Regions from separate parts of the Homo sapiens genome. Here all the other regions are linked to region 2. The links are contacts of gene promoters, found by promoter capture Hi-C in blood cells and fetal thymus (Javierre and others, 2016). All regions are on one chromosome and are shown on one strand. The core of a region is centred on a gene start or on the middle of the fragment in contact, and the rest is flanking DNA. Distances in the headings are between cores, read along the strand shown.

Evidence for each region. The method cuts DNA at HindIII sites, captures the fragments that hold promoters and counts their contacts. A CHiCAGO score of 5 or more calls a contact.
Region 1: a contact is called between a fragment that was not itself captured here and the fragment with the promoter of APP in region 2, in 1 of 17 cell types (megakaryocytes). The highest score is 8.4, in megakaryocytes.
Region 3: a fragment that was not itself captured here is called in contact with the fragment with the promoter of APP in region 2 in 1 of 17 cell types (non-activated CD4 T cells); the score reaches 5.5 in non-activated CD4 T cells.

What each region holds. Positions count from the first base shown.
Region 1 is chr21:26,043,605-26,047,421 of GRCh38, forward strand. The region is part of intron 5 of APP (amyloid beta precursor protein); the gene reads right to left. Among named protein-coding and RNA genes, the nearest start is that of APP, 130 kb to the right of the region's middle. The HindIII fragment of the contact is 6,437 bases long and covers 1-3,817 here.
Region 2 is chr21:26,168,701-26,172,924 of GRCh38, forward strand. APP (amyloid beta precursor protein) reads right to left here and starts at 2,070. Exons shown (of 18, transcript NM_000484.4): 1 at 1,864-2,070. The coding sequence starts at 1,920. APP-DT (APP divergent transcript) reads left to right here and starts at 2,167. Exons shown (of 4, transcript NR_186396.1): 1 at 2,167-2,352. RefSeq lists enhancers at 573-782, 1,281-1,805 and silencers at 823-1,092, 1,593-2,422. The HindIII fragment of the contact is 2,642 bases long and covers 1-2,555 here.
Region 3 is chr21:26,059,422-26,063,425 of GRCh38, forward strand. The region is part of intron 3 of APP (amyloid beta precursor protein); the gene reads right to left. Among named protein-coding and RNA genes, the nearest start is that of APP, 110 kb to the right of the region's middle. The HindIII fragment of the contact is 7,631 bases long and covers 1-4,004 here.

The DNA.
Region 1 (3,817 bases), core at 439-2,938, 130 kb before region 2:
ATGTGTTTGATGTGAATGCCAATGTGATTCAACTCAAATACTTGTTGAGCACCTAACTACCTAACTTATAGAAAATTATGCCAAGTATTTTCCTGCATCAGGTTGTACAGGCCTCATAATAAATGTAAATTCTTGGTAAGTAGGATAGGCTGTTAACCTTTAGAATACCATCAGGTCTTGGACACAATTTTACCTTTGAGTTCTGAGCACTTCTAACTACTTGTGGGCTGATATTCTCACTTTATCCATTCATAGAGAAAAAGAAATTTAATCGACTAAAACTCATTCTAGCTTGTACTTAACCATGAGTCTGAGATATGGTATGAACCTCGATCTTTTTCCTATATTGTGTTCCTATGTTACAAAATATTTATCATCCGAAGAATTATTTCATCATTAGCCATCAACTATTTAAAAACTGTGCTAAAGAAGACAAAATAATATGAGCATGAAAGAATGATATAATTGCCTAGAAAGGTGATGCAATAGGGAAATTATCACATTTTTATTGCTGTGTTCCCAAAGTACTGCATCATCTTTCAAGATGGTTTAAAAAAAGTCTGCATAGTCCCAGCTACTTGGGATGTTGAGGCATGAGGATCACTTGAGCCCAGGAGTTTGCAGCTGTAATGCACCATACTCACACCAGTGAATAGCCACTGCGCTCAAGTCTGGGCAACAGAGTGAGGTCCCATCTCTTTAAAAAGCATGATAAAAAGAAGTCTGGAGACTCACTGAATATAGTCAAAAATCATCTTCCACATATTGGCAAATAGGAACAACTGACAGAAGGAGGCATTTTACCAATTAGATAAACCAGAAGAAGAATGAAATTGATCACGTAAGTAAAACCTTAGGCTATGAGCCTTCACATGATATCCTAGATGAATTTTCTCAAGCTCAAGAATTGACAAGTGAGCAATGTATTTCTTTCTTTCTTTCTTTCTTTTTTGAGGTGGAGTTTCGCTCTTATTGCCCAGGCTGGAGTGTGATGGTGCAATCTTGGCTCACTGCAACCTCTGCCTCCCTGGTTCAATTGATTCTCCTGCCTCAGCCTCCCGAGTAGCTGGGATTACAGGCATGCGCCACCACGCCTAGCTAATTTTGTATTTTTAGTAGGGATGGGCTTTCTCCATGTTGGTCAGGCTGGTCTCGAACTCCCAACCTCAGGCGATCGGCCCACCTCGGCCTCCCAAAGTGCTGGGATTACAGGCGTGAGCTACTGCGCCCGGCTGAGCAATGTATTTCTAAGAATAAAAAGGAAATATGGTATTCTCATCCACTTAGTCATTCAACAGGAAGGATATCATCACTCAATATTATGTGACAAAAACATTAACCATCATTGCTAAAATGATGTGACAGTATTCCTTGCCATTTTATGATGCTTATGCAACACATTTTATGTCTGTGCAACACATTTATTTGATACCATTAGGAAGTGGACAAATGCCCAAGGCAGGAATCTCTCTAAGGTGATTAGAAGAGATAATGCAGAAAAAAAGGGGGAAAAAAAGACTGGCTTGATCATTTTAATAGCTGTTTACAAATCCAAACTTGAAAACATTTTATTCCTGAGGGAAGATGGCTATATTCTCTCTTCAATAAAATTATGAGCTGTCAATGTTTTAAATATCTTAAATTTTTACAATAATTAAATGAAATTGCAAGTATAAAAAAAAAAGACCAAGAAATATGATGAACCTAATAGAGATGTATTTGAAATGTAGAACCAGTATTTGTAAGACGGATATATTTCAGGTTCGTGCATGGCAGGTGATTAGCAGCTAGCTGCATTCCAAAGGATAATGCTCATTTCAGAAATCCATACCTTCAAAACTGGGAAAATACAGAATAAACATGTGGGTTTACCATATTTAAATTCTTCGTAAAATTAAAATATTTACTATGTTAACTCTTATTAAAATTGCTAATAGTTATTTCTCACTATTCCTTTATTCTTAGTTCTGTAAATTGTTTACCAAATAATCTAAAAATATGAAACAATAATAATATAAACGGCCCACTGTATCTAGATAGTCAATGGTGCTGGCCTGGTTTTCTGGTGTAGTTAGAGGGCAAGGTGACGTCTTGCCATATGTGACACTCCAGCAATCACCAGAACTGATGAAGTTTAAACTGGGTTCAATACGGAATTGTATATTCCAATGCACGCACACCTGCATACATGGCCATACGCACCCACACAAGCCACCCCGAGCTGTATTAGTTCATTTGCATGTTGCCGATAAAGGCATACCTGAGACTGGGTAATTTACAGAAGAAAGAGGTTTAACTGGACTTACAGTTCCACATGGCTGGGGAAGCCTCACAATCACGGTGGAAGGCAAGGAGGAGCAAGTCATGTCTTACATGTATGGCAGCAGGCAAAGAGAGAGAACTTGTGCAGGGGAACCCCTCTTTTTAAAACCATCAGATCTCGTGAGACTTATTCACTTCACAGGAACAGCATGGGAAAGACTTGCCCCCATGATTCAATTGCCTCCCACCGAGTCCCTTCCACAACACATGGGAATTCAAGAAGAGATCTGGGTGGGAAAAAAGCCAAAACATATCACTGCCCCCCAAACCAGAGAGTAACATTAACTAACCTGGCCAACATGGTGAAACCCTGTCTCTACTAAAAATACAAAAATTAGCTGGGTGTGGTGGTGAACACCTGTAATCCCAATTACTCGGGAAGCTGAGTCAGGAGAATCGTTTGAACCCAGGAGGCAGAGGTTGCAGTGAGCCAAGATCACACCACTGTACTCCAGCCTGGGCAACAAGAGCAAAAACTTCATCTTAAAAAAAAAAGAAAAAGAAAAAGAAAAAAAAAAACTCTTCCAAGTTATACAGTCTTAATGAAAATAAGACACGGTCAAAAGGAATCACTCCTCCAGATCTTAAGCAGCTCTTTAAAAAAAAAATGTTCAAAGAAATAGAAAAAAAAAATCATCTAATTATCCAGAAAGATACATCAAGTTACCTCTCAGCACACGCTCACCAGTGTCTGCAAACCTAAACCTAAAAGAATACATCGATAATTAAAGATTGTTTCTTAAAAAAAATGTGAGTACCTCCTCTGCAAGAGGAAAAGTGTGACTCTACAACAATTAGAGGGTCTTCTAACATTTCATTTGCTTTACGAATTCAGCAACCCCCATGGACCACTGGGTTCAATCAGATTCTGCAGTTCCAGGTGAGGAGCAGCTCTGCCTCCAGGGCTAGGCTGCCTACCTGGCTAGTCTTACAAGTTAGCTTTCCAAATGAATTTTCCCATGGAAAAAAATCTTACCCACGATGGCTGGAGTCTGTGTATTATTAACATTATGTACGTAATTATTATTATTAACATTATGCTACATAATGTTAGTAACAGTCTGGATTATGCTACATTACAGACTGCATAAATAGGTATTTTGAGGTGATCTGAGAATATGACCATTACAACACTGGAGAAAAATATACTCGGTAATTTACACATAAATTTCTGAAACACTACCTGTTTTGCCTATGTTAAAGATTTACCTCTTTTTCATACCTCTTTTTCAATGAGGTCATAAAACAGAGCTCATCCTACAAGGAATGTTTCTCTAAATGCCCCATTAGCGATAGAAAAACACTCATCTTCTATCAAAACAAGCCTCATTAACTACCAAACAACAAAATACTGTGAATCAAATATTGTTTCCAGGAAAATGGTAGCTCGTTTCTCCTTCTTCAAGAATTGTCACGTAGCATCCCCTGAAGATGTTTTAAGTCAGGTACGTTAAACTTCTATTCTGATTTTACATTTCAAGTGTCAAAAGGAGGG
Region 2 (4,224 bases), core at 820-3,319:
TAATTCTACAAATAAATGTAAGTAAGTCATGAGAGAAATCAGAATTCTCTTAGTTAAGTGCATTTTTTTAAAACATGGAAAACGAAATTCTTTAACTCTTAAAACAACCTGTCTTAACTAGCCCTAAGGTGATTCCTGAGCCACTTGTGGGTAAAAATCAGAAGAGAAAAAAGTTCAATGACCTTGCAAATTAGAAACTAAAAAACTAATGGTGTGATAGTCTGTACAGCCTCAGTGGAATTACAGGAAAACATCTGCCCGGAAATTGCTTTTTTTCTTTTGGAAAATTACTAGGAGGCTGGGGGAAAAGAGGGGAAAAACGGGTAAGGAAGGTTGCAAATGTTAAGATGCCAAACAGGAACCCAACCGAAGTCCGAAGTGAAATACAGCCTCCTCTGGCCCAACTGTCATGCAAACAACTTCTAAGCATCTTCAGATGTAAAGAAAAACAGTCATTGTGCACAGGCGTTAGCTGAATGTTCGAGAGTTGGATGAATGGGGAAGACTTGTTATACACCTAGTGGTGGGTGGATTTCACTAGGCTGCAGCCTCCACACAGCTTTTCTTTGCTGCACTGCAGAGGCGCCATCTTCTCCGTCTTAATCTTCACTCAATTCGATCCTTTTATCTGCACCCTAAAAAAAAGACCCTTCGGACCCTCCCCAGCATCCTGTGCCCCCAGGGGAACTAAACCAGAGTCCCCAGAGCTGCCAGGGAAGAGGCCGCGCCTTAATCAGACAAACGCCTCCTTGGATGCACAGGACAGAGCCCGTGCCTCCCCACCATCCGCCACTGCCCTTTCCAGACGCACATCCCACTCTCCGCCTTATTTCCTCCCCGCCAAGGACTTTACAGCCCAGCACAGAATTAAGCCTCGGAGGTGATCCGAGGGTGGGAAGCAGAGGGGCCCCGAGGCTCCGCCAGAAGCCCCGGCAGCGTCTCTGCCCCCTCCCAGGCGGACGCGCAGCCCCGGGAAGGGAGCCGGGCGGGAGCCTCGGTGGCGCACTGAGACTAACGCGGCTCGGCCCACGGCGAGGGCGGGGTGTCGCGGCTTTTGTTCCCGCGGACCTTCTGCCTCTCAGACAGAGCTTAGGGTGCGAGCGAACTCCCGGGACGTCCAGACTTGGGGAAGGCGCGGGGTGGCTATGGGTCTCCGACCCCTCCCATTTCTCGCAAGTTACACAAAAGGGAGACGCGGACATGCACAAAGTTTGCCTGTGGAAGGCGGTGCGCGACCCCGACGCCGGCTCGGGCTAGGGTCGCACCCAGGCTGCCGCCGCCAGCAGCCGCGAAAAGAGGTTGGAGCAAGGAAGGGGGATGGGGGTGAGAGAGGAAGGTGAAACGAGGCGGAGAACGCAGGGAAAAGCGAGGGGCTCCTAGCTTCCTGGGCTGTCCCGACTCCTCCTCCTCCTCCCCAGGGCCCAAGAGAAAGGAAAGGGCAACGATTCAAGAGCGAAGGACTGGCTTTAGGGACGCTGCGTTTTCGGTTTTCCCCACGTGCTCCTTCCCCCTTCCCCCCTGTCTGAATGTCTCTCGCCTCCCCCGACCCCCGCTTCCAAGGCAGGGACTAAGTCGGGGTCTGGGCTCAGGGTCGCCCCCTACCCTTCTCGCCCCGGGCTGGCGCGGAACCAGGGAGACCAGCGCCTCGCCCGCTCCCTCTCAGCGGGCCGGAGCGCGACTCCCTGGGGCAGGGCTGGGCCGAAAGCGGGGATGCGCTGGACGTCCGCAAGCGGGGGCGGAGAGGAGAGGGGTCCCATTGACGGACCCCCGGCTTCTCTGCATTAAAGACTTGGGTTAAGGTCTTGGGGGGTATCGCGTCCCCACCGTGCAGCCTCCCCCCGCCTTCCGAGGCGCGGCACCCACCTCCAGCGCCCGAGCCGTCCAGGCGGCCAGCAGGAGCAGTGCCAAACCGGGCAGCATCGCGACCCTGCGCGGGGCACCGAGTGCGCTGCTGTGCGAGTGGGATCCGCCGCGTCCTTGCTCTGCCCGCGCCGCCACCGCCGCCGTCTCCCGGGGCCCCCGCGCACGCTCCTCCGCGTGCTCTCGCCTACCGCTGCCGAGGAAACTGACGGAGCCCGAGCGCGGCGGCGGGGCTCAGAGCCAGGCGAGTCAGCTGATCCGGCCCACCCCGCTCGGCACCCGAGAGAGACCCCTAGCGGCGCCGCCGGGGAACTGCGCCCGCTCGCGCCGGGAGGGGCCCTCGCGCCCCGCGCCCACAGGTGCACGCGCCCTTGGCGCCGCCTGCACCCCACGCGCCCCCTCCGCTCCCCGGCCGACGGCCCACCTGGGCTTCGTGAACAGTGGGAGGGAGAGTCTGGGGCCAGGAGAGGGACGGTGCAGGATCAGGGAAAGGTGAGTCCTAGGACGCTGAGGCTCTAGAAAAGTCGAGAGCGCTCCTGCTCGTCCCCGTGAGCTTGAATCATCCGACCCCGCAGGCCTCCCGGGGGTGTCGTATAAAGGACTGCTGCTAGGGTGCGTTTTTATCCGCATTTCGTTTTTTCTCTCGGTTTGGAGAGGTGGGGCAGGCGTTTCTGGAAGAGAATGAGAACGAGTGAAGCTTAAAGGAAATAGGATTTTCTTTGCTTGTTGAGACAGCAAAACCTCATTTTTTAACCCCCAACGTCAAAAGCAGGCACGAGCAACCTGGAATTTCTATCTTTAGAACGAACCAAAGGAGCAAGGCGCAGGACCTGGCAAAGAAGCGGCCAACCCATTTACTTCTTCTTGAAAGCAGGGTTCTGGGCTTGGGTTTTGTTTCTTTCTTATATTTTTGTTTGTTTTTGGTTTTGTTTTGTTAAAGGGGGTGGTCAGTGTGGATTTTGCGGGGCGGGGGGTCTTTTTTTGTTGTTAAGCAGGGATGTAACATCCATCTGAGTTGGGGAAGAAGGAAAAATTAGGAGAGATCATTCGTATTCGACCCCCGTAAATGAGGACTTCTGACCTCAAACGCTGCCCTTGTTCTTCATTGTGTCTGTCCTGAATTATAGAAATGAACCTTCTGCCATGCCACTTTCTCCTGGATTAAACACAAACCGTCCACTGTCCAGTTAGTGTCCAGATAGTTTAGAATGCTCTAGAACTGCCCAGATATATCCCCTGCTCTTGACCTGAAGTAGCATTTAGTTACCAAGCCACAGCCCACTCCACACAGGGCTTGGAGCGAAGGACTGAAGCCAGGGAGTGCTCTGGCCCTTCTGAGGGCTGCACTGCAGCCTGCCTTCTCTCCCTTGCTCATTGCGCTGACAAGGGTGCCTAGGCCCGGGAAGGATGGCTCAGCCAGCGGGGTACAGACTTCCTTCCTGGGAAGTCATTTCTGTACCAGCTCCCCTAAATGTTGTCTTGTGTGTCTTTTCCCGCACTAGGCATTCAGTCTTGACTCTTGGATTACTTTTGCCCCTGAATGTCCTTTGGATGTCCTCAACAAATAAGGACAAATATTTATTGTCATGCAGTATTTGTTTATACGCTTCATGTCATTTACTTCCTACAAAAGCCAAAGAGGCTGTTACTATTATTCCTATTTATACATCAGGAAAATGAAGCTAATGAACTCCCAAATCTAATAGCAAGTAAGTGACATGAAGCTGGGACAGCAGGGAAAAGCCTAAAGTGACAGGACAAACCCAGTTGTTCACTTTCTGCACCACATTTACCCACCGCAATTCCGTATTTGTTCCGGGTCTGCATGAGCAAATAAGGCAAAAAAGAAGGTATCTGAATGCAAAGAGAAACGTGGTCCAAAGCTACAAATCTTGCAGAGTCCACTGCAAAATGCAAACGTGAGACCCTTTGTTACATTATTAAGAATTTTAAGGCCGGGCCTGGTGGCTCATGCCTGTAATCCCAGCACTTTAGGAGGCCCAGGTGGGCAGATCACCTGAGGTCAGGAGTTCTAGACCAGCCTGGCCAACATGGTGAAACCCCCATCTCTACTAAAAATGCAAAAATTAGCCGAGCGTGGTTACTCCTGCCTGTAATCCCAGCTACTCCAGAGGCTGAGGCAGGAGAATCGCTTGAACCTGGGAGGCGGAGGTTGCAGTGAGCCAAGATTGTGCCATTGCACTCCAGCCTGGGCGACAGAGCGAGACTCCACCTCAAAAAAAAGAAAAAAAATTAAATTAAGAATTTTAAGATGGCAATGGCAGAGCGTTAAACCAAGCATGGGGCTCCTCCCACCGCAGGGCCTGTGAGACTCTCCAGGGTTGCATGCCCATGAAGCCAGCC
Region 3 (4,004 bases), core at 1,401-3,900, 110 kb before region 2:
GCCAAAGCCTCGGTTTCCTTGTGCTATGGGCCCAGATCTGCCTTGTGAAGATAAAACACCAGTATTGTTAGTAACTCTGAACTGTGTGCCTGCCACCACCCTCAATACTTCACGTGCGTCTTCTCTCACCGTCCTCAGAACCACACCAAAGCAGCTACAATGATTTCACTTTATAAGAGAAGGCAAGGGCCGGGCACAGTGGCTCAAGTCTGTAATCCCAGCACTTTGGGAGGCCGAGACGGGTGGATCACAAGGTCAGGAGTTCGAGACCAGTCTGGCTAATATGGTGAAACCCCGTCTCTACTAAAAATACAAAAAAATTAGCCAGGCGTGGTGGTGCATGCCTGTAATCCCAGCTACTCAGTAGGCTGAGGCAGGAGAATCGCTTGAACCTGGGAGGTGGAGGTTGCAGTGAGCCAAGATAGCACCACTGCAGTCCAGACTGAGCGAAAGAGCGAGACTCCGTCTCAAAAAAAAAAAAAAAAAAAAAAAAAAAAAAAAAGAGAGGGTGAGACTGAGAGACTATGTAACAGTCCAGGTCACATAGAGAGTAAATGGCAGAACTGGGAGAATTAAATGAATTAATATCCCTAAAGTACTCAACTAGTGCCCAGAACAAAGTTGCTCAATAAATTATATTAATAGTATCCTTCTCCCCAGTATCTATCTCATCAACCACAGTAGTTTCTCATAATAATAATCATAGTAATCAAAACAGCAACAGCTACTCTTCATCATTCACTAATCACCTATTTCGCACCTACTGAAGACACTGGGGTTTTATATGTTCATTGCACCATCACCACCTACTTGTAGCCCCACAGAGATGACATGGTACTGTTTTACATGTGAGTACTGCTTATGATGGGGTGAATACATGACAGCAATCAACACAGCGGGGTGGAGTCCCTACGACTGGAGAAGCAGAGAATCTGAGTGATCAACTCTTTCAACTCTTGCACCGAGTGCTGGTCCTGGCTGGGAGGGGGTGTTTCCTAAATCCCCTCTTGCAGCCACTGTCCTTTATCCACTAACTCTTCACTGCATACTTACAATTATGTCTCAGTGCTAAGAATACAGCAGTGAACAAAACAGATAAAACGATATATGATCCTAGCGGGGAAGCGATAAAAAATACAGATAAAAATACAGTGTCTGTTGGATGGTAATAAATGTTACATAGATAAAGCAGAGAAAGGGGTGGTTTGTTTGTTTTTTCTGAGGGGTGAAATTTTAAATAGGGTGGTCAGGGAATGCCTACTTGAAAATATGACATTTCAGTGAAGACTTGAGGAAGTGAGGGAACAAAGTATTCAGAATCAAAGGGAAGAATATTCTAGCCAGAGGAAGCAACAAGTATTACACAAAGTCTTGAGGCAGATGCATGCCTGGTGAACTCACAGAAGAACAAGGAGATCAGTGCTGTCGTGGAGGAATGATGTGGAAGAGATCAGTGGGCAAGCGAGTGAGTGACAGCCAGGACAGGACAGGGACAGCTGACTGCACGGGGCCTTAAACATTGTCCAACTCTGGCCAGTACTCAGAGTAATGCTGGAAGGCTCTGGGGTGGTTTTCTAAGCTAATTATTCTTGCCCTAGGGGGTCAAGACTAGAAGTGAGAAGACCAGGAAGGGGGCTCTGGCATTAATCCAGGTGGGAGATGACAATGACTTGGACCAGGATGAGAGCAGTAGAGGTGGTGCGTGTTCTCAGATTCTGGATGTCGTCTGAAGGTCAGATCTAAATAATCAAATAGAAAGGAGTCAAGAATCTAGCTTGTTTCTATTCCAACAGCTAGAAGATGCTTTATACTGAAGATGATGGAAAAGTCTGGACAAGACTTTCCTAATTTTTCTGTGTAGATGTGTAGACAGGTAGAACTTTTGAGAATTATGTACTTACTAACTTGTATACACTAGATATGTGTATATGAAAATGACAGCTACAGATAAATGTTTTCTTAAGTGATTTTTTATTTTACCATTTCAGACTCTTACTCCACAAATTTTTTTGTCTTGAATGTGCTCATTATATGCTATCTTTTGTAACTTTCACATTAACAAATAGGCTGGGAAAATTTTCCTGGGAGGCATCTGTACTCAAGAGACGGGACGATTACTTCACAGAAACAGCCAAACATTTCTCAACAAACTTTCCATGTGATAAAACTGTTATGGTTTTAGCTTCAGAGTGTGGGCAGTTACTGGGTTCTCAAAGAGGACATGAGGGTGAATTACACATCCTTTTAAAAAGTGGCTGTTGCCGTCACCAGCATTTCACTGTAACTATTACCGGATAATAGTGAGAACTGACAGATGGGATTCTTCAGATGAGAACTATTTGCCAGATGGTAGGAACTAAATGGATCAAGATAAGCAAAAAGGCAAAAGAAGTGAAAACTAAAAGTTTTACCTAAATCATCTCTCCAACTTTTCCAAGTGCACAGATCCAGCCTCACATACGTACCATATACACACACAGATGGCAGAGTGAGTATAAGACAGAATAGTGCTGGCCGGGAGTGGTGGCTCATGCCTGTAATCCCAGCACTTTGGGAGGCCGAGGTGGATCACAAGGTCAGGAGTTTGAAACCAGCCTGGCCAATATGGTGACACTCCGTCTCTACTAAAAATACAAAAATTAGCTGAGCATGTTGGCGCGCACCTATAGTCCCAGCTACTCGGGAGGCTGAGGCCGAAGAATCTCCCGAACCAGGGAGGCGGAGGTTGCAGTGAGCCAAGATCACACCACTGCACTCCAGCATGGGTGACAGAGCGAGACTCTGTCTCAAAAAACAAACAAACAAACAAACACACACACACACACACACACACACACAGAATAGTGTTTAACCCAGGCTCTGAATAACACTGGTCTTAAAATAATAAAAATAGTGCAAAGGATTTACTTTAAAAAAGAGAAAAGAAAAAAAAAACCACGGGAACAAAATAAGTATTTATGGCCAGGCATGGTGGCTCACACCTATAATCCCAGCAATTTGGGAGGCCGAGGCAAGTGGATCACCTGAGGTCAGGAGTTCGAGACCAGCCTGGCTAACATGGTGAAACCCCGTCTCTACTAAAAATACAAAATTAGCTGGGCATGGTGGCGGGTGCCTGTAATCTTAGCTACTCGGGAGGCTGGGGCAGGAGAATCGCCTGAGCCGGGGAAGCAGAGGTTGCAGTGGGCTGAGATTGTGTCATTGCACTCCAGCCTGGGTGACAGAGGGAGACTCTGTCTCAAATAAATAAATAAATAAATAAATAAATAAATATTTGTTAGCAGTCTTGCAGCTTTTAAAAAGATCCATATAGGTGTGGGTTAACAAATTTTTTTATATTTTTTATTTTTTATTTTTTTAAGAAAGAGTCTTACTCTGTCTCCCAGGCTGGAGTGCAATGGCACGATCACAGCTCACTGCAGCCTTGACTTCCTGGGCTCAGGTGATCCTCCCACCTCAGCTTCTCGGGTAGCTGGGACTACAGGCACATGCTACCATGACCAGCAATTTTTTTGTATTTTTAGTAGACATGGGGTTATGCCATGTTGCCCAGGCTGGTCTCAAATTCCTGGGCTCAAGCAATCCACCTGCCTCAGCCTCCCAAAGTATTGGGATTACAGGCATGAGCCACTGTACCCAGCCTGGGTTAACAATTCTGATACGGCTACGCACATATACTGAAACTGAACAATTAAGTACATAGATGGTGGATGGAGTGAGAATTTATACATAACCAAGGAGGAGAGATATAGTGTCCATGTGGTAATACGTTAGAGTAGGAAACATCCGGATGAACTTGTATTTAGCTTAATATAGACTAGATATTATAGCTTAATATAAATACAACTAGTTAGCTATAGAAATATTTATAGATCTGCATAACATAAGGGTGAACATGGACAAATACATTGCCTTGCTCTATCAACTGAGAAGTCTTAAAAGCAAAGAAACTCCAGTGGCAACGAGCATCCTTAACATCCAGATTTTAATACTATTCTCCAATA